Linked DNA regions of Homo sapiens: all the other regions are linked to region 1. Evidence: promoter capture Hi-C in human tissues and cell types (Jung and others, 2019). All regions are on one chromosome and are shown on one strand. Each heading gives the region's core, a stretch centred on a gene start or on the middle of the fragment in contact. The rest is flanking DNA. Distances are from core to core; before and after follow the strand shown. Region 1 holds the start of NDUFB7 (NADH:ubiquinone oxidoreductase subunit B7). Region 2 holds the start of SYDE1 (synapse defective Rho GTPase activating protein 1). Region 3 overlaps HACL2 (2-hydroxyacyl-CoA lyase 2). Region 4 holds the start of EPHX3 (epoxide hydrolase 3).

Evidence for each region. The method cuts DNA at HindIII sites, captures the fragments that hold promoters and counts their contacts. A contact is called where the count stands out against the background at its distance.
Region 2: a contact is called between a fragment that was not itself captured here and the fragment with the promoter of NDUFB7 in region 1, in 4 of the 25 tissues and cell types used here (H1 embryonic stem cells, bladder, lymphoblastoid cells and 1 more).
Region 3: a fragment that was not itself captured here is called in contact with the fragment with the promoter of NDUFB7 in region 1 in 1 of the 25 tissues and cell types used here (dorsolateral prefrontal cortex).
Region 4: the fragment with the promoter of EPHX3 here is called in contact with the fragment with the promoter of NDUFB7 in region 1 in 1 of the 25 tissues and cell types used here (mesenchymal stem cells).

Annotation. Positions count from the first base shown.
Region 1 is chr19:14,568,253-14,573,869 of GRCh38, forward strand. NDUFB7 (NADH:ubiquinone oxidoreductase subunit B7) reads right to left here and starts at 3,814. Exons shown (of 3, transcript NM_004146.6): 1 at 3,637-3,814. The coding sequence starts at 3,748. RefSeq lists an enhancer at 3,746-4,035. The HindIII fragment of the contact is 12,939 bases long and covers 1-5,617 here.
Region 2 is chr19:15,101,702-15,107,670 of GRCh38, forward strand. SYDE1 (synapse defective Rho GTPase activating protein 1) reads left to right here and starts at 5,700. Exons shown (of 8, transcript NM_033025.6): 1 at 5,700-5,820. The coding sequence starts at 5,733. The HindIII fragment of the contact is 6,045 bases long and covers 1-4,445 here.
Region 3 is chr19:15,116,671-15,122,441 of GRCh38, forward strand. It overlaps HACL2 (2-hydroxyacyl-CoA lyase 2), which reads right to left. Exons shown (of 16, transcript NM_006844.5): 7 at 3,312-3,411; 8 at 2,748-2,845; 9 at 2,496-2,632; 10 at 1,211-1,345. Among named protein-coding and RNA genes, the nearest start is that of ILVBL-AS1, 4.6 kb to the right of the region's middle. The HindIII fragment of the contact is 6,371 bases long and covers 954-5,771 here.
Region 4 is chr19:15,229,223-15,234,922 of GRCh38, forward strand. It overlaps EPHX3 (epoxide hydrolase 3), which reads right to left and starts at 3,226. Exons shown (of 7, transcript NM_024794.3): 1 at 2,747-3,226; 2 at 2,554-2,639; 3 at 2,017-2,174; 4 at 1,740-1,868. The coding sequence starts at 2,989. RefSeq lists an enhancer at 2,976-3,477 and a silencer at 3,816-3,975. The HindIII fragment of the contact is 16,546 bases long and covers 1-5,700 here.

The sequences.
Region 1 (5,617 bases), core at 2,564-5,063:
CAGGCTGGTCTTGAACTCCTGACCTCAGGTGATCCACCCACCTTGGCCTCCCAAAGTGCTGGGATTACAGGTGTGAGCCACTGTGCCCGGCCTGAGAGCCTTTTTCTCTGCTGCCGCCCCGTATGTAGATGAGCCCGATGTGGTCCCTCCACCCCACACCTCGCTTGAGCCCCAGGCCTGGGTATCACCTGCAGCCCCTGGCTGTTCCCTATCTGCACTTGGAGCTCCAGGTGGCAATCCTAGACTCCTCCCTCTTTTGTCTTGAACTTATAATCAGCTAGCAGCAAGGACTTTAGACTGCCTACTGTGTGCTTAGTGGTGGGGATACAGCAGGCAACACAACACACAAGTGTCCCTGCCCTCAGAGGGAGACACAGAACAGACAGAAGACAGAGCACCACAGCGTGTCTGGCAGTGCTTAAGTATTAGGGAGACCAGCCTGGGGAGCACAGAAAGATCCCATGTCCAGAAAAAAATAAAATTATCTTTGCACGGTAGTGCACACGGAGTATCCAGAGCTACTCGGGAGGATCGCTTGAACCCAGGAGTTTGAGGCTGCAGTGGGTGATAACCACCCCACTGCACTCCAGCCTAAGCAACAGAGCGAGAGCCCATCTCTACAAACAAATAAATAAATATGGGCCAGGCGCGGTGGCTCACGCCTGTAAACCCAGCACTTTGGGAGGCCGAGGCAGGTGGATCACTTGAGGTCAGAAGTTCGAGATCAGCCTGGCCAACATGGTAAAACCCTGTCTCTACTAAAAATACAAAAATGAGTCAGGTGTGGTGGCACGCACCTGTAATCCCAGCTACTCGGGAGGCTGAGGCGGGAGAATCGCTTGAACCGGGAAGGCAGATGTTGCAGTGAGCAAAGTGACTGGCTGAAAGGGGGTGGAAAGGAGGAAAGAGAGGGCAGGGGACAGTGATCTAGGAGGGAGGGAGAGAGTGAAGGATCCGGGAGGTAAGAGAAAGGCCAGGCACCATAAAGAGTCCACTGGAGTACCAATCGGGAGACCGGTCAGCAGGGACTGCAGGAATGCGCCACCACACCCAGCTAATTAAAAAATAAAAATAAAAAATTGTAGAGACAGGGCCTTGCTATGTTGCCCAGGCTGTTCTTGAACTTCTGGCCTTGAGCAATCCTCCTGCCTTTGCCTCCCAAACCGTTGGGATTACAGGCATGAGCCATTTTGCCTGGCTTAGAGCTGTTTTTTTCTTATCTCCCCGCCCCCCATTATGTTCAGTTGCACGGGGATAGGCACCAAGGAAGGGAAAGAGGTGAGTTTATCCAGAGTAAGCAAGAGAGAAGGGCAGCAGGTTGCTAGCGTTTGCAAAGCTGATCTTGGGGAAAGCAAGGTATGTGAGGCAGTGGGAGGAAGGTGGACGGACCAATGAACTGCAGGTTCAGCTGGGGCGGAAGGACTACCCGGAGTGTGGACACTGGAGTGATTATACCATCTCCCAACTTTCTCTCAAATCCAGGCTGCTTAGAGGTCTCTGTCTCAAGCTTGTCGCCCACTCAGTAGACAGTGTGACCTTTTGACCAACCAAAACTGATTGTGTCCCTCCTCTGCTTAGAAGCTTGGCTCTGCCACCTCTCTTTGGTCAACCCCTACTCATGCCCCTTCACATCTTTGTTTTGTTTTGTTTTGTTTTTTCAGACAGTCTCGCTCTGTCACCCAGGCTGGAGTGTGGTGGCCTGACCTTGGTTCACTGCAACCTCTGCCTCCTGGGTTCCAGCCAATTCTCCTGCCTCAGCCTCCCAGACAGCTGGGATTACAGGCATGCGCCACCACACCTGGCTAATTTTTGTATTTTTAGTAGAGTAGAGACGGGGTTTCACCATGTTGGCCAGGCTGGTCTCAAACTCCTGACCTCAGGTGATCCACCGGCCTTGGCCTCCCAAAGTGCTGGGATTACAGGCATAAGCCACCGTGCCCGGCTTAATTTTTGTATTTTGTTTTTGAGATGGAGTCTTGCTCTGTCGCCCAGGCTGGAGTGCAGTGGTGTGATCTCGGCTCACTATAACCTCTGCCTCCTGGGTTCAAGCGATTCTCCTGCCTCAGCCTCCTGAGTAGCTGGGACTACAGGTGTGCACCACCACGCCCCTGGCTAATTTTTGTATTTTTAGTAGAGACAGGGTTTCACCACATTGGCCAGGATGGTCTCAATCCCCTGACCTCGTGATCTGCCCGCCTCGGCCTCCCAAAGTGCTGGGATTATGGGTGTGAGACACCATGCCCGGCCTCAATTTTTATATTTTTAGTAGAGATGGTGTTTCACCATGTTGGCCAGGCTGGTCTCAAACTCCTGACCCCAGGTGATCTGCCCGCCTTAGCCTCCCAAAGTGCTGGGATTACAGGCATGAGCCACCACGACCGGCCACCCTTCACGTCTTTGTTTCCAGCCACTGCCTCTTGGAAGCCTGCTTTGACACCCCCAGCTCTGCCTGATTCCACAATCTTTCCCACTGTGCTGAGTTCTCTGGAGACAGTGCCTGCATCCCTCCAGTTCCCTGCTGTATCCGCGGTGCCTAATGTGGGACGTGGCCCAGAGCTGGTGCTCGGTATGCCTGTGATATTACTACATTAAAAGCAAAAACAAACACACGAACCAAAAAACCATCCTGGGCGTAGTGGCTCACATCTTCAATCCCAGCACTTTGGGAGGCTGGGCAGAAGGATCGTTTGAGCCCAGGAGTTTGAGACCAGCCTGGGCAACACAGCAAGACCCCCAACTCTACAAAAAATAAAAAATCAGTCTGGCATCCTGGGGCGCTCCTGTAGTCCCAGCTACTCGGGAGGCTGAGGCGGGAGGATCATTTGAGCCCAGGAGGTCGAGGATGCAATGAGCTGTGATTGTGCCACTACACTCAGCCTGGGCAACAGAGCAAGATCCCGTCTCAAAGCAAAACAAAGCACTTTGCAGGACAGTATTTGCAGCTCGAATCTTCCTTATTTCCTTGTGCATACCCCACAATTGCAGTGACATCAGGAAGGGGGTACAATGAACGTGTCCCTGCCCTCCCATGACTCCCCACGTCCCCCAAGACTTGGCCCGAGGCCGGGCGTGGTGACTGACTTCTGCGATCCCAGCACTTGGGGAGGCCGAGGCGGGCGGATCACTTGAGGTCAGGAGTTCAAGAGCAGCCTGGCCAACAAGGAGAAACCCCGTCTCTACTAACAATACAAAAAAGTAGCTGGGCATGGTGGTACACATCTGTAATCACAGCTACTCGCGAGGCTGAGGCAGGAGAATCGCTTGAACCCGGGAGGTGGAGGCTGCCAGTGAATCGAGACCAAGCCACTGCACTCCAGCCTGAAAGAAAAAGCGAGACTCCGTCTCAAAAGAAAAAAAAAAAAGACTCGACCCAGCTCTGCGCGTCGCATTCCTGCCCGAACCCCCACTTGTCGCCTCACTTTTGCTCCCTGGCTTTTGCTCAAGCCGTGCCCTTGGGCTGGAACGCCTCCACACTGAGGTGGGGTCATGCACGTCCTGTGGACTCCTAGTCTAGACCCAAACCCAGATACAACACCTGAGGTTAGAGCCCAGCCCTGGGGTGCCAGCCCTGGGGTGCCAGGTGTTCAGGCACCCGCGCCCCACGCCCTCTGGCTGCGCCTGCGCACTGGGCCTCACCGCGCTCCTTGCGTTCGGGGAAGCCGTAGTCTGGCGGGAAGGTTGGCATCTGCAGGGGGTCGGGCTCCACCGAGGCATCGCCCAGGTAGCGCCGGACCAGGTGGGCCCCCATGGCTGCAGTCGCTGCAGATCCCTGCAGCAGCCGAGGGTCACCTAGCTCCTACCCGGAACCACTGACCCCTCAGTCAGACACAGCTTCCGGGTCATTTAGGCAGCTGCGGAGATCATAGAGATGAAGGACTCCAGAGGATCGCTCCGGTCCGCCTGGCGTCACCTCGCGGACAGGCGGAGGCGGGACAGGTGCTGTGTCTCTTCGCAGGATATGGTTGGACCCGAGAGGGGACTTCCCTGAGCCTGGAAATCCATCTGGGCGGGGCAGAAGGGGACGGTGTGGGACTGAGGCCTCCCTCGACCCTATCTGGGGCTCTTCTGGTAGCCCGAGGCTAAAGCACATATTAAAATTATTTTTCATATCATTTTCCAAAAAGTTTTTTCTTTGAAAACATTCAAATTTCTCTTAAAAAAGGCACGATATCTATTATATCGTTAATGTATGTAATTTTGCATAAAGTCACTTTAAGAATTTTTTGTTTTTGGAGACACAGTACCTGTCGCCCAGACTGGAGTGTATTGGCGCGATCTCGGCTCACTGCAGCCTCCACCTCCTGGGCTCAAATTCTCTTGCCTCAGCCTCCTGAGTAGCTGGGATTACAGGCGCCCGCCACCACCCCCAGCTAATTTTTGTATTTTTAGTAGAGACGGGGTTTCGCCAGTTGGCCAGGCTGGTCTCGAACCCCTGACCTCAAGTGATTCCCCCGCCTCAGCCTCCCAAATTGCTGGGATTACGGGCATGAGCCACAGTGCCTGTCCAAGAAAGATTTTGATAAATTTAATTTAAATAAAAGTTATTCATAAATACAGTTATTATTATATTATTATTTTTTGAGATAGGGTCTCATTCTGTCGCCCAGGCTGGAGCACAGTGGCACAATCATAGCTCACTGCAACCTTGAACTCTTGGGCTCCAGGGATCCTCCCGCCTCAGCCTCTCAAAGTGTTGGGATTATGGGCGTAAGCCACTGTGCCTGGTCAAAAACAATTATTTAAAGCTGAAATTTCAAATAAATTATATATATATATGCAATCTTTATACAATTTTAAAATATATTAATATCTAATATTAATATCTAATATATATTTTTCCCCAGTCTGACAAAGCATGTATTAGGCATCTACTGTATGGTATGCTGGGTCCAGTGGTCAGACAGAAAGGCAGACGTGGTTCCTGTCTTTCAAGCTTACAGTCTAATGGAACAGAAAAACAGTCTAATGGAAAAAAAAAAATATGGGCCAGGGCAGTGGCTCACACCTGTAATCTCAGAGCTTTGGGAAGCTGAGATGGGAGGATCGCCTGAACTCAGGAGTTTGAGACCAGCCTGGGCAATATAGGGAGACTCTATCTCTACAAAAAAAAAAAAAAAAAAAAAAGCTGGGTGTGGTGGTGCACGCTTGTAGTCCCAGCTACTCGGGAGGCTGAGGCAGGAGGATAACTTGAGCCCAGGAGTTCCAGGCTGCAGTGAGCCGTGATCCCATCACTGCACTCCAGCCTAGGCAACAGAGTGAGACCCTGTCTATAAAAATTCCCAGGTGATGTGATGTTGCTGGTCTAGTGACCAGCTTTGGGAGAATTACTCAACTAGATCTTTATGTGTTGACATGGGGAAGTGGCTGCTGATATATTAAGTGAAAAAAGCAAGCTATTGAGAATAGACAACTGGCAATAGAGACTTTTCTTTTTCTTTCTTTTTTTTTTTTTTTTTTGAGACAGAGTTTCACTCTTGTTGCCCAGGCTGGAGTGCAGTGGTGTGATCTCGGCTCACCGCAACCTCCGCCTTCTGGTTTCAAGCGATTCTCCTGCCTTAGCCTCCTAAGTAGCTGGGATTACAGGTGGGTGCCATCACGGCCAGCTAATTTTTTTTTT
Region 2 (5,969 bases), core at 173-2,672, 530 kb after region 1:
ATCCAACACAAGGGTGAGGGAGCTGGGGTATTTATCCATCAATTCCCCTTGACTACCACAGAGGTGCTGAGCTCTGCCCAAAACTGACAGGAAATGGTCTTTTGGTCTTTCAACTAATTGGTCTATATGTGTCTGGGGCTGGTTAATCCACCAGGTACCAAAAGCACAGCACATCAGACCTGCAGCCAATGAGAACATTTAGGGGAAAGAAAACACACACGTGGCCAGGTGCAGTGGCTCACACCTGTAATCCCAGCACTTTGAGAGGCCAAGGAAGAAGGATCGCTTGAGGTCAGGAGTTTGAGACCAGCCTGGGCAACATAGCAAGATCCTGTCTCTACAAAAAAAATTTAAAAGCTAGCTGGGTATGGCAGTGCATGCCTATAGGCCTAGCCACTCAGGAGGCTGAGGCAAGAGGATTGCTTGAACCCAGAAGTTCAAGTCTGCAGTGAGCTATGATCACACCAATGCACACCAGCTTGGGTGACAGAGGGAGATTATGTCTCTAAAAATAATAAGGCCAAGCACGGTGGCTCACACCTGTAATCCCAGCCACTTGGGGGGCCAAAGTGGGAAGATCACTTGAGCCCAGAAGTTTGAGAACAGTCTAGGCAACATGATGAGACCCTATCTCCACAAAAAAATAGAAAAATCAGCCTGTGGCATGGTGGCACATGCCTGTAGTTCCAGTTGCTTGGGAGGCTGAGGCAGGAACATCACTTGAGCCTAGGAGGTTGAGGGTGCAGTGAGTTGTGGTAGTGCCACTGCACTACAGCCTGAGCAACAGAGCAAGAAAAATAAATAAAATAATAATAATAAAGTAAATAAAAATAACATGAAAATAATTTTTAAAAAATTTGAGACAGAGTCTTAGTCACCCAGGCTGGAGTGCAGTGGCACGATCTTGGCTCACTCCAACCTCTACCCTCTGGGTTCAAGCGATTCCCCTGCCTCAGCCTCCCGAGTAGCTGGGATTACAGGTGCCTGCCACCATGCCTAGCTAATTTTTATATTTTTAGTAGAAACGGGGTTTCACCATCTTGGCCAGGCTAGTCTTGAACTCCTGACCTCGTGATCCACCCGCCTCAGCCTCCCAAAGTGCTGGGATTACAGGCATGAGCCACAGTGCCCGGCCATGAAAATAAATTTTTTTAAAAGAAAAGAAAATGGGCCAGGCACGGTGGCTGACCCCTGTAATCTCAGCTCTTTGGGAGGCCAAGGTGGATGGATCACAAGGTCAGGAAATCGAGACCATCCTGGCCAACATGGTGAAACCCCATCTCTACTAAAAATATAAAAATTAGCTGCACGTGGTGGTGTGTGCCTGTAATCCCAGCTACTCAGGAGGCTGAGGCAGCAGCATCGCTTAAACCAGGGAGTCACAGGTTGCAGTAAGCCAAGATCGTGCCACTGCACTCCAGCCTGGGCAACAAAGCAAGACTATGTCTCTATAAAAGAAAAGAAAAGAAAATGTACGCATACAGGCTCTAAAATCTGTACAGCAACTAGCAAAATCCACAGGAATAAGCATACAAACATCATTATGAAACTTAGAATTCATAACCATTTCATTACATACAATTTGCAGATAATCTGTTCTCACTTATGGAAATTTCTGATTGCTAAGAAAGAATCAGAGCCAATGGTGAATTAAATAGGCTACATGCAGGCAAATAAAGACAACAGGAAAAGTACAAAAACTCAAAAAGATTTACACAAAATAATAATAATAAATATTTATGTGGTATGTGGGTGTCATATGGGTGGGGCTAAGGGTTGCTCTCACTCCCATGTCAGACCCCAGCTCCTCTGAGACTCTGAAATACCCCATTGGGACCTTAGTCCTGCAGCCTCTACCCTCAACTTGTAAACAGGTATTGTCTTGACCCCTGACTTCTTTCCCCATTGTCAATAGCTGCCTCAAAGACATCTGCGCAGGGATCTCATAGGGAGGAGGGTGCACTCCACCCTTTTACAGACTGATGCCCCCCAAACACACATATCCAAGAAAAGTGAACAGCACCTAGGAGAACTGTATATCAACAGTTGTATAATGAGTATACCAATATATGCATAATGAGAGTCCCAGAAGGAGAGAAGTGAAAGGAGCAGAAAGAATATTTGATGAGGCTGGGTATGGTGGTTCATGCCTATAATCCCAGCACTTTGGGAGGCCAAGGTGGGCAGATCACTTAAGGTCAGAAATTTGAGACCGGCCTGGCCAACATGACGAAAACCCATCTCTACTAAAAATACAAAAATTAGCTGGGCATGGTGACAGGCACCTGTAACCCCACCTACTTGAGAGGTTGAGGCAGGAGAATCACTTGAACCCAGAAAGCAGAGGTTGCAGTGAGCCAAGACCATGCCTCTGCACTCCAGCCTGGGCAACAGAGTGAGACTCCATCTCAAAAAATAATAATAATAATATTTGATGAAATAATGGCCAAAAAACTTCCCAGAAGCCCAGAATTGATGAAAGACATGAATCTACATATCCACAAAGCTCAACAAACTCCAAGTACAATAAACACAGAGAACCACACAAAGACACATTAAAACCAAACACACACAGCCTCCTCGTCCAGGCCTCTTGGACACCCCCTCCTATACAGACCTCCATCACCTGACACCTGATCTCCTACCTGAATATTCAGCAGTGAACAACATAGACAAGCATCACTTGATCACTTGGTGGAGACCCAGTCTGGACGAGGAGGCAGATAAACTAGAACAAACCACTGGGACTGTTAAATTCAAGTTGTGGCAAGTGTTAGAAGAAAGGAAACTGAGTAATGTGATACTGACTAGACAGAGGTGGTGGACAGAAAGGGTCTCCCTAGAAGGTGCCATTGGACCTAAAGGATGAGAGAGAGGTGGCCTCAGAAGAACCAGGGCTTCCCAGGCAGAAGGAACCATGTGTGCAAAGGACCTGAGGCAGAAATAGCTTGATATGAAGGAGAACCAGAAAGGAGGCCATGGTGAGTGAATGGGACAGCCAAAGAGATGAGGCTGGAAGTCTTGTGAGACCATGCTGGGAATCTGAATTTTATTCTAGGTGAGGTGAGCAGTCATAGGAACACTATTCAGCAGGATGGTGCCACAATCTGATTTCAGTTTTAAGTCCACTGTGGGTAATATATGGAGAATGAAATGTAGGGCTAAGACAGGTTATATTTTCCCAGATGGCCACAATATCTCCCACCCTACATCCACTTGTACAATGTCACCTTGACATGCCTCCCATGTAGAGAGGTATAATCTGTGCCCCCTTTCCTTGAATCTGGTGGCAGAAGTGACACAGCATGACACTCAAGGCTGGGTCAGAAGAGATGCAACTTCTTCCTTGTTCACTTTTAGAGGGCTGGGTGGCTGTCTAAGAAGTCTGACTACCCCAAGACCACCATGCTGGAAGGAAACCCGAACCACACGGAGAGGCCTGTGTAGCTACCCTGGTCCACAGCCCCAGCAACAGCTGGCGTCAGTTGCAAGACCTCTGAGTGAAGACACCTCCAGATGACTCAGGACCCTGCCATTTTTTAGTCACCCTCTAGCCTAAGTCTCCCCTGTCCAAACTGAACCACAGCATCTGTGAGCATCATGTAAACCAAAAGGTATCTCAGATAAGTCTCAATAAATTTAGAAAGCTTATTTTGCCAAGGTTATGGACATGCCTGTGACACAGACTTAGAAGCTCCTGACAACATAAACTAGGGTAGTCAGGGCCACTACCTTGATTCAGGTCTGTAATCCTAGCTACTTGGTAGGCCAAGGCGGGCAGATCACTTGAGACCAGGAGGGTTTTTTGTTTTGTTTTGTTTTTTTGTTTTGTTTTTTTGAGACGGAGTTTCACTCTTGTTGCCCAGGCTGGAATGCAGTGACACAATATTGGCTCCCTGCAACCTCCGCCTCCCGGGTTCAAGAGATTCTCCTGCCTCAGCCTCCCGAGTAGCTGGGATTATAGGCATGCACCACCACCCCCAGCTAATTTTGTGTTTTTAGTAGAGAAGGGGTTTCCCCATGTTGGTCAGGCTGGTCTCGAACTCCCAACCTCAGGTGATCCGCCCGCCTTGGCCTCCCACAGTGCTGGGATTAGAGGCGTGAGCCACCGCACCCAGCCGAGCCCAGGAGTTTGAGACCAGTCTGGGCAACATGATGAGACTCTATCTCTACAAAAAGTAGGGAAATTAGCCAGGTATGGTGACACATGCCTATAGTCCCACTTGCTCGGGAGGCTGAGGCAGGAGCATCACTTGAGCCCAAGAGGCTGAGACTGCAGTGAGCTGTGGTGGTACCACTGCACTCCACCTTGGTCTAGTTTTATATATTTTAGGGAGACATGAGACAGCAATCAATATATGTAAGATGCACATGGGTTTGGTCTGGGAAGGCAGGACAACTCAAAAGTAGGGAGAAGGCTTCCAGGTTATAGGTGGATAAGAGAGAAACAATTGCATTCTTTCGAGTTTCTGACTAGCCTTTCTGAATATGCAATTTACAGAGATAGTCACTTATGCCTTAGTCTGGCTTAGTGAAACAAATAGGTAAGGAAGCGATCAGATATGTGTTTGTCTCATGTGAGCAGAGGGACAATTTTGAGTTCTGCCTGTCCTTCATCCATAAGGAATTTCCTTGTAGGCAAATTGTGGGGGAGGTATGTAGCTTTTTTTTTCTTTTCTTTTCTTCTTTTTTTTTAGACGGCATCTTGCTCTGATGACCAGGCTAGAGTGCAGTGGTGCAATTTTGATTCACTGCAACCTCCACCTCCCGTGTTCAAGCAATTTTCCTGCCTCAGCCTCCCAAATAGCTGGGATTACCAGTGCCCACCCACCATGCCTGGCCAATTTTTTTTCTTTTTCATATTTTTAGTAGAGATGGAGTTTCACCATGTTGGCCAGCCTGGTTTCGAACTCCTGACCTCAAGTGATCCGTCGCCTCAGCCTCCCAAAGTGCTAGGATTACAGGAGTGAGCCACCGCGCCCAGCTAGCTTTTTTAACCTTGTAGCTATCTTACTTAGGAATAGAATGGGAGGCAGGTTTGTCCTACACAGTTACCAGTTTGACTTCTTCCTTTTGGCTCAGTGATTTGGAGGTCTCAAGATTTATTTTCCTTTCACAATCACGACATGGTTGTTTTACATCATTACGTTTGGGGATGGTTTGTCAAACAGCAGTAGTAATTGGAATTTGGAGGTGAGAGAATTGAGTGGGGAAAGAGTGGCATGGGGAGACCAAGGAAGAAGCTTGGGGTGGGGTGGGTAGTGGGGACGGTCATTGAAACGAATGACACTACGGCTTGCACCAGGTTGAAGCAGTACCTGGCAAGGAGAGAGAGGATACGTGGAGGCTGCGATTTGGAGACAGACCCAAGAGAACTTCCTGGATGCCATCACCCAGAGTCCCATCCAGGGAGGGTGGGTGAGGTGGAAGACAAGGGATCGGGCCTGCGCCACGATCGTCACGTCCCATCGAAGCTGGAGCGGATCCGGGCACCCGGAGCCCCCATTCCAACCCCTCCCGGCCCCAGGCAACTACATCTCCCAGCATCGCCCGCTCGGGCCGCGGGAAAGGGGAAAAAAAAAAAAAGTTTGGGCCAAGCATTCCCGGAATGTGCTTCCTGCTGGCGCGGGGCGGGGGGCGGGCGGGGAGGCCCGGGCGGGGCGGGGAGGGCGCGGGGCGGCGCGGCCGGAGCCCGGGGCGCGCACTCGGCTCGGCCCGGCCCGGGCCGCAGCATGGCCGAGCCGCTACTCAGGAAAACCTTCTCCCGCCTGCGGGGCCGGGAGAAACTTCCCCGGAAAAAGTCGGACGCCAAGGAGCGCGGTAAGCGGAGATCGGTGGGGAACAGGGGGCGCCGAGCCCCACCCGGCCTGGGAGCGGGGTCCCAGGGCCCCGAGGACAGACGGTGGGGGGGATCAGGGGGAGCCCCCCGCACCCCGCTGCAGACTGGGGTGCCTCCAGCCAGGGGAGGG
Region 3 (5,771 bases), core at 2,889-5,388, 550 kb after region 1:
GAAACACCCCAGAACCTGCCAGAACCAGGGGAGGGCAGCCCAGGTGAAAAGGGAAGACAAGGCCCAAGAAACAAGGGTTAAGGAGCACAAGGCAGGTGACAAACCCAAGCTGGCCTCGTCCCCTCCCTCCACCTCCTTCTGCCTGGGAAACACTCAATGAAAAGAGCTACATCCACCAAGCACATCTCTCAAATCCAGGCACGTGGAAGCGCACAGCGAACGTTACTGAAGTGAACTAACAAACAGCCCCGTGATGTATCTTTCACCACCCCATTTTTCAAATGATCAAATGGAGGCTCTGAGAAGGTGAGGCTCTGCCGCTGTTCATCTCCAGTTCAGGCCTCCTCGCTTCTGTCCTGGCCATTTTGAGCAGCCCCCCTGGCCTCCACCCAGCCCCCTTCCGGCCTGCCGTCCATGGCTGCTGAGTGGACCTTCCCAACACAGATGCAACGGTGCTACTTCTCTGCTTAATACAAGAGTGTCCTGTCGCCTAGGCTGCAGGGGAGTCAACATCCTCAGAATGATGAACCAAGTTCAAGTCCAAGGGGACTAAAATAAGGGGAGGGGAGAGATACGGCAGGAAGACAGGCTAAGGGGCCAACGAGTGTGCTCTCTGTCCTGAGGGCAGTGGGCAGTGTGGGAGGGAACGTGATCACATGCACGTTTTCAAGCCTCCCTCTGTGTCCACCCCACCATTTGTTCCTACAGAAGCATCTATCAGGCCGGGCGCAGTAGCTCTGGTCTGTAATCCCAGCACTTTTGAGAGGCCGAGGCAGGAGGATCACTTGAGGCCAGGAGTTCCACGCCAACCTGGGCAACACAGTGAGATGCTGATTCCACAAAAAAAAATTAACAAATTAGCCTGGCATGGTGGTGCATACTTGTAGTCCCAGCTACTCAGGAGGCTGAGGTGGGAGGATTGCTTTTGAGCCTGGGAGTTTGAGGGTGCAGTGAGCTGTGATTGCACTACTGCATTCCAGCCTGGGTGACAGAGCGAGACCTCGTCTCTAAAAAATAAAAATAAAAAAAATTTAAAGAAAGAAGCATTCATCAGTTTGAGAGCCAACTATTTGTCTCTGGTTGACTGGCTACCCCTAGGGCAAGGTCTGGGCCTCAATCACTGTACCAGGCTCAAGCCAGCTGCAGCAGAAACCAGGAGGAGAGGGACTGGGAGGAGCACATATGTGTACGGGGGGATTAAGGGGCTCACCCTGCACAGCCTCCTGGGGCTTCCAGAAGATGTCTGAGTTGAGCAACATCTCTTCCCGATTACGATTGACGATGATGATCTTGCTGCTGTGGCTGAGGACACGGCCATAGGATAGGCGGAAGTCACACACAGTTCCTGGTGTGGGGGACAGGAATGCAGTAGGCAGAGGCCCCATGTCGTCTACCTTACTTGATCCACTGTGGTGGACTGGATGCAAATGAGTCCCTGTTCCTCACCGAGTCTCCCTGCACCTGTGCCACCTACAGTGACCTTGCAGCTCCCCACACCCCCTGAATCGGGACTGGCCTCATGACATGCTTTGGCCAACAGGATAGGGCAGAGGCAGGTTATATTTTCCCAGATGGCCATAATATCTCCCACCCTACATCCATTTGTACAAGGTCACCTTGACATGCCTCCCATGGAGAGAGGTGCAGCCTAGGTCCCCTTTCCTTGAAAGTGACACACCATGACACCCAACAAGGAAGATATGCAGTTTCTTCCTTGTTCACTTTTAGAGGCCTGGGTGGGGCCAAGGAATGTGCTCTCTGTCTAAGAAGTCTGACTACCCTGAGGCCATCATGCTGGGAGGAAACCGGAGCCACACATAGAGACCTGTGTAGTTGCCCTAGTCCACAGCCCCTCCAACAGCTGGCGTCAATTGCAAGACCTCTGAGTGAAGACACCTCCAGATGATTCAGGACCCCCACCCCCCATTCCTGCAGACTCTACTTCAAGAAGCCACACAGCCTCCACTCACTCTCTTGAATAACCGCACTCTCCTAGCCCCATAGTTTTCTCATCCTTCACCAAGTCGGCCAGCCCAGGCTAGCCTACTGGAGGATGAGAAACAAGGGGGCCATGGAGACAGGGGTGAAGAACTCTATGACCCCAGCTGAGGCCATCCCAGACGAGCTGCAGGGCCAGCCAATCCCCATACAGGTGAGCAAGCCCAGCCTGGATCAGCACAGCTGCCTTCCTGCCTAACCCAAGTGCAGACTCATGAATGAGCCCAGCCAAAACCACAGCTACCACCTACCTTATAGGTGGATCTTGAGAAATCAGAAATGCATTTTTAGCCATTGAGTTTGGGGATGGTTGTTACAGGGCAGTAGCTATCTGATACACCTATTATGCGTCTGGTTGGGTTCAAAGCGCTTTATGTGAAAATGTGTATCAAGTACAATAGGTGCCCACTAGACCTTCCTCCTCCTTCGTGTGAAGCTGGGTAACAGGGTGAGGGGGTTCCTGGGGGAAGGAGGGAAAGGAAGAGGCTCAGGCCCACCTGCTAGGACAATGACATCCGCCTTCTTCAGGGCCGCACTGCGGTTCTCCCGGATGTGGAGGGGGTGGTTGCGGCCTAACAGCCCCCGTGCCATCCCTCCAAGGAAGCAGGGAACACCCAAGGTCTCCACGGCAGCCCTGGGAGTCCAGGCAGAGCAGAGGTCAGTGTGGCCGGGGCCTCCCGCCTCCCCAAGAGCACCCGAGGACTGGGGACTGGGAACGTGAAAACAAGGGCAGGGCTGGCGCTTCTCACCGAAGCTTGTCGGCAGACGTTGGGGTGAGCAGGGCCTGACTCCCCAGCACCATCAGAGGCCTCTTGGCCCGGCTCAGGATCTCCACACAGCGCTGAACCTGGAGCGAGAGGTGGGGATCAAAGGGCTGTCTTTTTATTTATTTATTTTTTTGAGACACAGTTTCACTCTGTTGCCCAGGATAGAGTGTAATGGCATGATCTCAGCTCACTGCAGCCTCCACCTCCCAGGTTCAAACGATTCTCCCGCCTCAGCCTCCAGAGTAGCTGGGATTACAGGCGCGTGCCACCATGCCTGGCTAACTTTTGTATTTTCAGTAGAGACAGGGTTTCACCATGTTGGCCAGGCTAGTCTTGAACTCCTGGCCTCAAGTGATCCGCCTGCCTCGGCCTCCCTAAGTGTTGGGATTGCTGCTGTGAGCCACCGCGTCCAGCCAAAGGGCCGCCCTTGAGTCGCCATGAGCACCCAAGATTAAGGCCCCAGTACTGACTCAGGGAGAGGGTCAGGGGGCCCTCTCCCCTCAGGGAGAGGGTAGGGTCCTCAGACACAAAAGAGAGGCAATTCACCTGCTGCGGGGAAGCCTGGGGGATGTCCAGGGGCAGCGGTCCCTCGGGCTGAGGCTCCCAGGCTCCTGCAAAGAGGTTGGCCAGGTAATTCTCTAAATACCTGCAAAAGGGAGGGGGAAGAAACCAAGTTGCCAGAATTAACTAACTACAAGGATTCCAGGATCTGAGCAAGGAAAGGGGCCGGGAGAAAAGCCAGGAGCAAAGTGGCATGGGGACAGGGTGGATGAGTGACACCTCAGGGACAGACGAACCCTAGTGGCCAGGTCTTCAACTGCCTGTTTGCCCTCGGTAGCCTCTGGGGTCCACCCCAACTCCACGTAGCCCCCCAGAAGCAAGGAACGCAGGCTCAGCATGCCAGGATTAAGCCTGTGGGTCCAACAGATGTGAGCTCAAGTCCTGGCTCTGTCACTTCCTAGCTGTGCAACTTAGGGCAAGTGACTTCACCCTTCTGAGCTTCCACCTCTGTCAATGTAAATATGAACCTCCCTCCCCAGGTTCAAGGATCTGTCCACTTAGGACATGAGGCGCTTTGCATGGGAGTTCTGAACACTGTCCTCTCCTGCTTCAAACAGGGTCTTCTCGGTCTCCTTGCTCACTGGGCCCCAGGGCCCCAACTTTCCTGAAGGACCTGTGCAGGGCCCTGGAGACACAAAGATAGATCCTGCCCAGCCCTCCCCTCAGGGGGCGCTCTATCCAGCGAAAGACAGACACATGGGCATTGGCAGGAAACAGTCGGAGCTCAGAGTCAGAAGCCTCTGCTTTCACCGTTAAGGACAGGCCAAGACAGCACAGAAGCAGCCCAGGATGGAACCGTGGGAAGCCCCGCAAGTAAAGAAAAGGCAAGGGAGGCTGAGGCAGGAGGATTGCTCGAGGCCAGGAGTTCAAGGCTGTGGTGAGCTATGATCATACCACTGCACTCCAGCCTGGGTGATAGAGTGAGGCCCTGTCTCAAAACAAAACAAAACAAAAAAGGCAAGATAAGAGATAGCCTTGTGAGAGGCAGCCCAAGAGAGAGGGGCAAGGAGAACAAGGGGAGGGACTGACTGGGAAGCCAGGGGGCAAAGTGCATTAAGAATGAGGCTATATGACCAAAATGGTGAAACCTCATCTCTACTAAAAATACAAAAATTAGCTGGGTATGGTGGACTGCACCTGTATTCCCAGCTACTCCGGGGGCTGAGGCAGGAGAATCACTTGAACCCGGGAGGTGGAGGTTGCAGTGAGCCAAGATCGCACTACTGCGCTCCAACCTGGGGGACAAAGCGAGACTCCGTCTCAAAAAAAATAAAGAGGCCATAGAACAAAATCACTACTGCCTGAGCTGACCCTCAGGCGCTTCACACACATCCGGAGTACAGGAGCCTGACTACCTTGTCCACTGATGATGCCCCGTGCCTGTCCTGGAACCTGGCACATGGCTGCCGCTCGCTAAATGTATGGAAAGGAAGGGCCAAGGACAGGCAAAGGGAAGGGACTGAGGGGAAGGGAGAGAAGGAGGAAGAAGAGGAAGAGGAGGAGGAGAAGAAAGGAAAGGAAGAAGAAGAAGAGAAGAGGCCAGGCGCAGTGGCTCATGTCTGTAATGTTTGAGAGGCCGAGGAGGGTGGATCACTTGAGGTTAAGAGTTCAAGACCAGCCTGGCCAACATGATGAAACCTCGTCTCTACTAAAAATACAAGTATTAGCCAGGTGTGGTGGCGGGCGCCTGTAGTCCCAGCTACTCAGAAGGCTGAGGCAGGAAAATCACTTGAACCCAGGGGGAGGCGGAGGTTGCAGTGAGCCGAGATCACGCCACTGCACTCAAGCCTAGGCAACAGAACGAAGAATCTGTTTCAAAAAAAAAAAAAAAGAAAGAAAAGGACAAAGATGTGAGGGAAGGAAAGGAGGAGGAAGGAGAGGGCTCGAGTCTGGGCTCTGCCACTTTTTTTTTTTTTTTTGAGACGGAGTCTTGCTCTGTCACCCAGGCTGGAGTGCAGTAGCACGATCTTGGCTCACTGCAAGCTCCACCTCCTGGGTTCACGCCATTCTCCTGCCGCAGCCTCCCAAGTAGCTGGGACTACAGGCGCCCGCCACCACGCCCGGCTAATTTTTTTTTTTTTTGTATTTTTAGTAGAGATGGGGTTTCACCATGTTAGCCAGGATGGTCTCGATCTCCTGACCTCGTGATCTGCCCACCTCGGCCTCCCAATGTGCTGGGATTACAAGTGAGAGCCACCGCACCCGGCCTGGGCTCTGCCACTTCTTAGCTGTGTGACTTTGGGCAAGTGACTTCACCTTTCTGAGCTTCCTCCTCTGTAAATGTAAGAATGAACCTCCCTTCCGAGGTTCAAGGATCATCCTTTAGGAGGAGGAAAACGGAGAGGACGATGGGAAAGGTGGTGGGGGAAAGGGAGGAGAAGAGGAAGGAAGAGGGAGGAGGAAGAGGAGGAAGAAGAGATGATGGAGGAGGAGAAGAAAGGGAAA
Region 4 (5,700 bases), core at 1,976-4,475, 660 kb after region 1:
TACAAAAATTAGCTGGGCGTGTTGGGGCATATCTGCAGTCCCCGCTACTCTGGAGGCTGAGGAAGGAGAGTCACTTGAACCCAGGAGGTAGAGGTTGCCAGGCAGGGTGGCTCACTCCTGTAATCCCAGCACTTTGGGAGGCTGAGGCCGGCAGATCGCTTGAGCCCAGGAGTTCAAGACCAGCCTGGCCAACATGCTGAAACCCCATTTCTACTAAAAATACAAAATAATTAGCCGGTCATGGTGGCACACATCTGTAGTCTCAGCTACTGAGGAGGCTGAGGCAAGAGAATCACTTGAACCTGAGAGGCGGAGGTTGCCGTGAGCCGACATTGCGCCACTGCACTGCACAGAGTGAGACTCCATCTCAAGAAAAAAAAAAAAAAAAGGGGCCAGGCGTGGTGGCTCACGCCTATACTCCCAGCACTTTGAGAGGCCAAGGTGGGCAGATCACAAGGTCAGGAGATCAAGACCATCTTGGCCAACATGGTGAAACCCCGTCTCTACTAAAATACAAAAAATTAGCCCGGCATGGTGGCCTGTAATCCCAGCTACTTGGGAGGCTGAGGCAGGGGAATCGCTTGAACCTGGGAGGCGGAGGTTGCAGTGAACTGAGATCACGCCACTGCACTCCAGCCTGGCGACAGAGCAAGACTCTGTCTCAAAAAAAAAAAAAAAAAAAAAAAAAAGAAAAGAAAAGAAAAAGAAAAAAAACAACAAAAGAGAGAGAGAGAGCACAGTTATGACCACAGTGCTGCATATTAACATCAGGTGATATGATAGACATTGTTAACCTCCCCAGCCTCAGTTTCCTCCAGCTGGAACATGGGGATAATACAACCTTCATAAGCCCAGGAGCCTTAAGTAGGTTACTGTGTGCATATTCCTTGTTACTGTAAGTGCTATAAAAAAATGTGGATTACTCCTAAGTGTATTGTGATTTATTTTATTTTATTTTATTTTTGAGACAGAGTCTCACTCTGTCATCCAGGCTGGAGTGCAGTGGTGCGATCTTGGCTTACTGCAACCTCCACTTCTCAGGTTCAAGTGATTCTCTTGCCTCAGCCTCCCGAGTAGCTGAGACTACAAGCGTGCACTACCATGCCTGGCTGATTTTTTTGTATTTTTAGTAGAGACGGGGTTTCACCATGTTGGCCAGGCTGGTCTTGAACCCCTGGGCTCAAGCAATCCACCGGCTTTGGCCTCCCAAAGTGCAGGGATTACAGGCAGGAGCCACCACGCCTGGCCATACTTTATTTTATTTATTTATTTTTTGAGATGGAGTTTTGCTCTTGTTGCCTAGGCTGGAGTGCAATGGCATGATCTCAGCTCACTGCAACCTCCACCTCCCAGGTTCAAGAGATTCTCCTGCATCAGCCTCCCGAGTAGCTGGGATTACAGGCATGCACCACCAATGCCTGGCTAATTACATTTTTTTTTTTTTTTTGTAGAGACAGTTGGGGTCTTGCTATGTTGACCAGACTGGTCTTGAACTCCTGGCCTCAAGTGATCCTCCCACCTCAGCCTCCCGGAGGGCTGGGATTACAGGTGTGAGCCACTGGGTCTGGCGTGTCATTAATTTCCGAATGAGGAGTTCCACAACCGAAGGGACCTGGGTTGATTGCTGCACCCTCAGCCCCTGATGTGTTGACAGGTATACAGAGAATTGAAAACACAGACACATGTCCCTGCCCCCTTGCACATAAGTACATCCCAGTGTCCCGGACTCCCACACACACCTTGGTACACCGACATGGGGGCACCACTGACCACAACCATCCGCTCGACCAGGGATGGGTAGTAGATGGAGAAATGCCAGGCAAGGAGGGCACCCCAGTCATGGGCCACAAGGATGCACTTCGAGTAACCTGTGGGAATTCAAGGAGCTCGCATAAGTGAGGTGCCCAGTAGGACTGAAGCAGGGATGGGGGAAGTAGGTTCCAGCAAGGAGAAAGCGGGGGTATGCGTGTGTGCAGGATGAGGGAGGCCACGCCTAGGATGGGGGTATGTCTGCACCCAGGCCTAGGATGACATCTTTGATGTCCACCAGCAGCAGGTCGATTGTGTAGCAGTCCACATCCCGAGGTGCATCCGAGGGGCCATAGCCTCGCAAGTCCACAGCCACAACATGGAAGCGGCTCTGGAACTCCCGGAGCTGGTAACGCCAGGAGAACCTGCCAGGCGGGCGAGGGAGGGAGGCTGAGTCAGGGCCCTCAGGTTGCACCTGCACCCTACGCACATCAGCAACCATTGGCAAACCCTCCTTCCTGCTCTAAACTTCCCCTAAAAGGAGGATGGGGAATCCCAGGCAGAGGCAGAGGCTGAGGCTGAAGCCAGCTACACCCTGAATCCAGGGAACTTCAATCAACCTCAATACCCCTTTGTCCTGTCCCTTCAGGGCCTAGGGATCCTGGGTATGCTGGCTCAGTACCCCTATCCCCATCTATGTTCAGCTTGTCCCGATCTATACAGCCCTCCTCCCTGCCTCTTGGGAGCCCAAGCTCCACCTGCCCCCGAGTCCCGTGGGCCTCAGGCCCCTGGCCCCAGACGTACCAGTTCTCAGGGAAGCCGTGCAGAAACAGCATGAGGGGTCCGTTACCTCGTCCAGCCGAGACATAGTGCAGACGCAGGCCCGAGCTCTAGGGGGAGGGCACAGCCTGAAGCCTGGGGAACCCTCTCTCCCGAGGCTTGAACCGTCTCGACCCCACGCGACCCCGCAGCCCCGATAGCGCCCCCGTGCGATCACCTTGAGGTTCAGGAAACCGTGCTCACCCAGCGAGGGGTCGCTCAGGCAGGCGGGGGACGCGCTCCGACGGCGCCCGCAGCAGCCGCGCCGGGGCCGGCACAGCACGTGCGTGAGCGCTATGCAGCCGTAGACCGCCGCGGCCACCAGCGCCACCGAGAACACCAGGCTCCACATGAAGGCGCGCAGCAGCTTCAGCGACAGGCGCGACGGCGCCAGCAGCGCGGTCACCACCAGCTCCGGCATGTCGCCGCGCTCCGGGACCACGGCGGCGCTGCCGGCCAGGGGCACCTGCAGCAGCGGCGAAGCGGTGTCAGGGCTCAGGGGCCCATCGCCCTTGGCCTGGGGCCCCTCCGTGCCGTCGGGATTTGTGGGACGCGCTGAAGGAAGAGGCGGGCGGCTCCGACAGAAAACAGCCAGAGCGCACCACTCACCTGAGTGCCAGGTAAACACCTGGGCGCGACAGGGACAGGAAACAAGGGTAGGGTGCGGAGGCTGGGGAGGAAGAGGTTGGAAAGGGGGGAAATAAATGGGCGGGGCCTAGCAGGTCCTGTGCGGGGCTTAGGGCCGGGGCGGGGCCCAGGAAGACTCAGCAGCGGGTGGGTGAGGGTCTAAAGGCGGCAATTCCGGGCCGGGTGCGGTGGCTCACGCCTGTAATCCCAGCACTTTGGTAGGCCGAGGCGGGCGGATCACCTGAGATCAAGAGCTCGAGACCAGCCTGGGCAACGTGGTGAAACCCCGTCTCTACTAAAAATACAAAAATTAGCTGGGCGTGGTGGCGGGCGCCTGTAGTCCCAGCTACTTGGGAGGCTGAGGCAGGAGAATCGCTTGAACCCGGGACGTGGAGGTTGCAGTGAGCTGAGATCGCGCCACTGTACTCCAGCCTGGGTCACAACAGGGAAACTCCGTCTCAAAAAAGAAAAAAAAAAAAGGCAATTCCGAGCCCAGACAAACCTTAAGGAGGGGATCCTGGATCTTCAGTTAAGTGGGCGACACCTGGAGTGAGGGGCGGGGCATATGCAGAGTAGGTGCGGCCTACAAGCCAAAAAGGAGAAAGAGTTGGAATGGTGGGCCTGGCTTATGCGGGTGGGCGGGGAGAGGGTGGATCCTAGAGGAGGTGAGGCCTAACATTGGGCGAAGAAGGCGGGAGCCTGGGCCAATGAGCTGACGGTAGGCCGGGGAGGGGGCGGTGGGGTGGGGTGGGCAATGGGCAATGAGACGGAGGGCGGGGCCGGGACCTAATATGGCGGGTCAGGAGGGTCTGGAAGACGAAGAAGAGGGACAGGCAATGCCAGGTCTAGGACTAGGAGGGAGGCGCGGGCGGTATTAGCGGCTGGAGGAGGCTTCGGGAGGCCCGGCCGACGGCCGCCGCCTGGTGCTACCCACCCAGGGGCGCGCGACCCTCCCTTCGGTCTGGCTCCAAAGACCTAGCAGCACTGACTTCACCCAGCTGTGGTTCCAACGGCGGGTCCAGCGGCCTCGGCCCGGCGCCGTCCTCCTGCTGGCCCAACAGGCCCGCCAGCCCGCCCCTGTACGTCTGTGATTGGACGGCGGCGGCCACTGATGTTCAAGCGACAGGTCCTGGCCCGGGAGCCAATCTGCAGGTGTTGAGGCCCAGGCTCCGAGAGCGGGCCGAGGAGGCGTGGATACCCTGATTCCTAGGGGGCAGGCCTGGTTCCCCCGAGGAGGACCCGGCCTATGAATGACTGGAGTTCTGGGGTTCTGGCCGAAAGAGGAAGTGGGACAGGGCCGGGTGTGATGGGGCCTAGAGTCACAGAGCCTTGCGGCCCTGCTGTCCCTGCAAGAAGCCAGCTTCTGGCCAGGCGCGGTGGCTCACGCCTGTAATCCCAGCACTTTGGGAGGCCGAGGCGGGCGGATCACGAGGTCAGGAGATCGAGACCATCCTAACATGGTGAAACCCTGTCTCTACTAAAAATACAAAAAATTAGCCAGGCGTGGTGGCGGGCGCCTGTAGTCCCAGCTACTAGGGAGGCTGAGGCAGGAGAACGGCGTGAACCCAGGAGGCGGAGGTTGCAGTGAGCTGAGATTGCGCCACTGCACTCCAGCCAGGGCGACAGAGCGAGACTCCGTCTCAAAAAAAAAAAAAAAAGCAGCCAGCTTCTTCCTCCTATTTTGCAACCTTCTCCCGATATCCTTGAACATTTTAGGGACAGCCATCACTTAACCATAGAGCAACCCTATTAAGTCTAAGTAGCATAATCACATTCCTGTAGTATAGATCATGAACCTGAAATTCGAGGATGAAGTCATTTGCCTGAAGACATACATCTTGTAAAATAGCCATCCGCAAAGATGTAGGGAAAAAGGCAGCGATCTGTGGCTACACCTCCCCTTCCTCCCGGAAGCAGCCACTGGAACGTTTTTAGCTTTTTCTTTTTTTTTCAGATGGAGTTTCGATCATAGCTCACTGCAGCCTCGAACTCCTGGGCTCAAGCACTACAACCTGTAGTTGGGACTACAGGCCTGTGCCACCACACTCAGCTAATTTTTCAAAAACTTTTCAGAGAGACGACTTGCTATATTGTCCAGGCTGGTCTCAAACTCCTGGCCTCAAGCAATCCTCAAGCCTCCACCTCCCAAAGTGGGATTACAGATGCAAGCCACCGTGCCTGACCTTTATTTCTTGACTTAACCAATGTATGACATCAGCCACTGACTTGCTCACATCACTACCCCGGACGTGCCGTTTTTTGTTTCCCTGTTAGTTTCCTTTAAAAACACTCCACTTGTCACCTCTTGCCCCTTTCCACCTCCCACTTTTATCCATATACCTTTGTACTGTCAAGGCTGCTAAACATTATACTGTCCTGGGACCATAACTAAGTCCATGAAGTTGCCACTTAAAGGTGAATAGTGGTTTATGTTCTGCCTCAGTGAACAATGCATCTCAAGAGCCGAATAGACCACTATGATTACATTGCCCATAGTGTACAAAC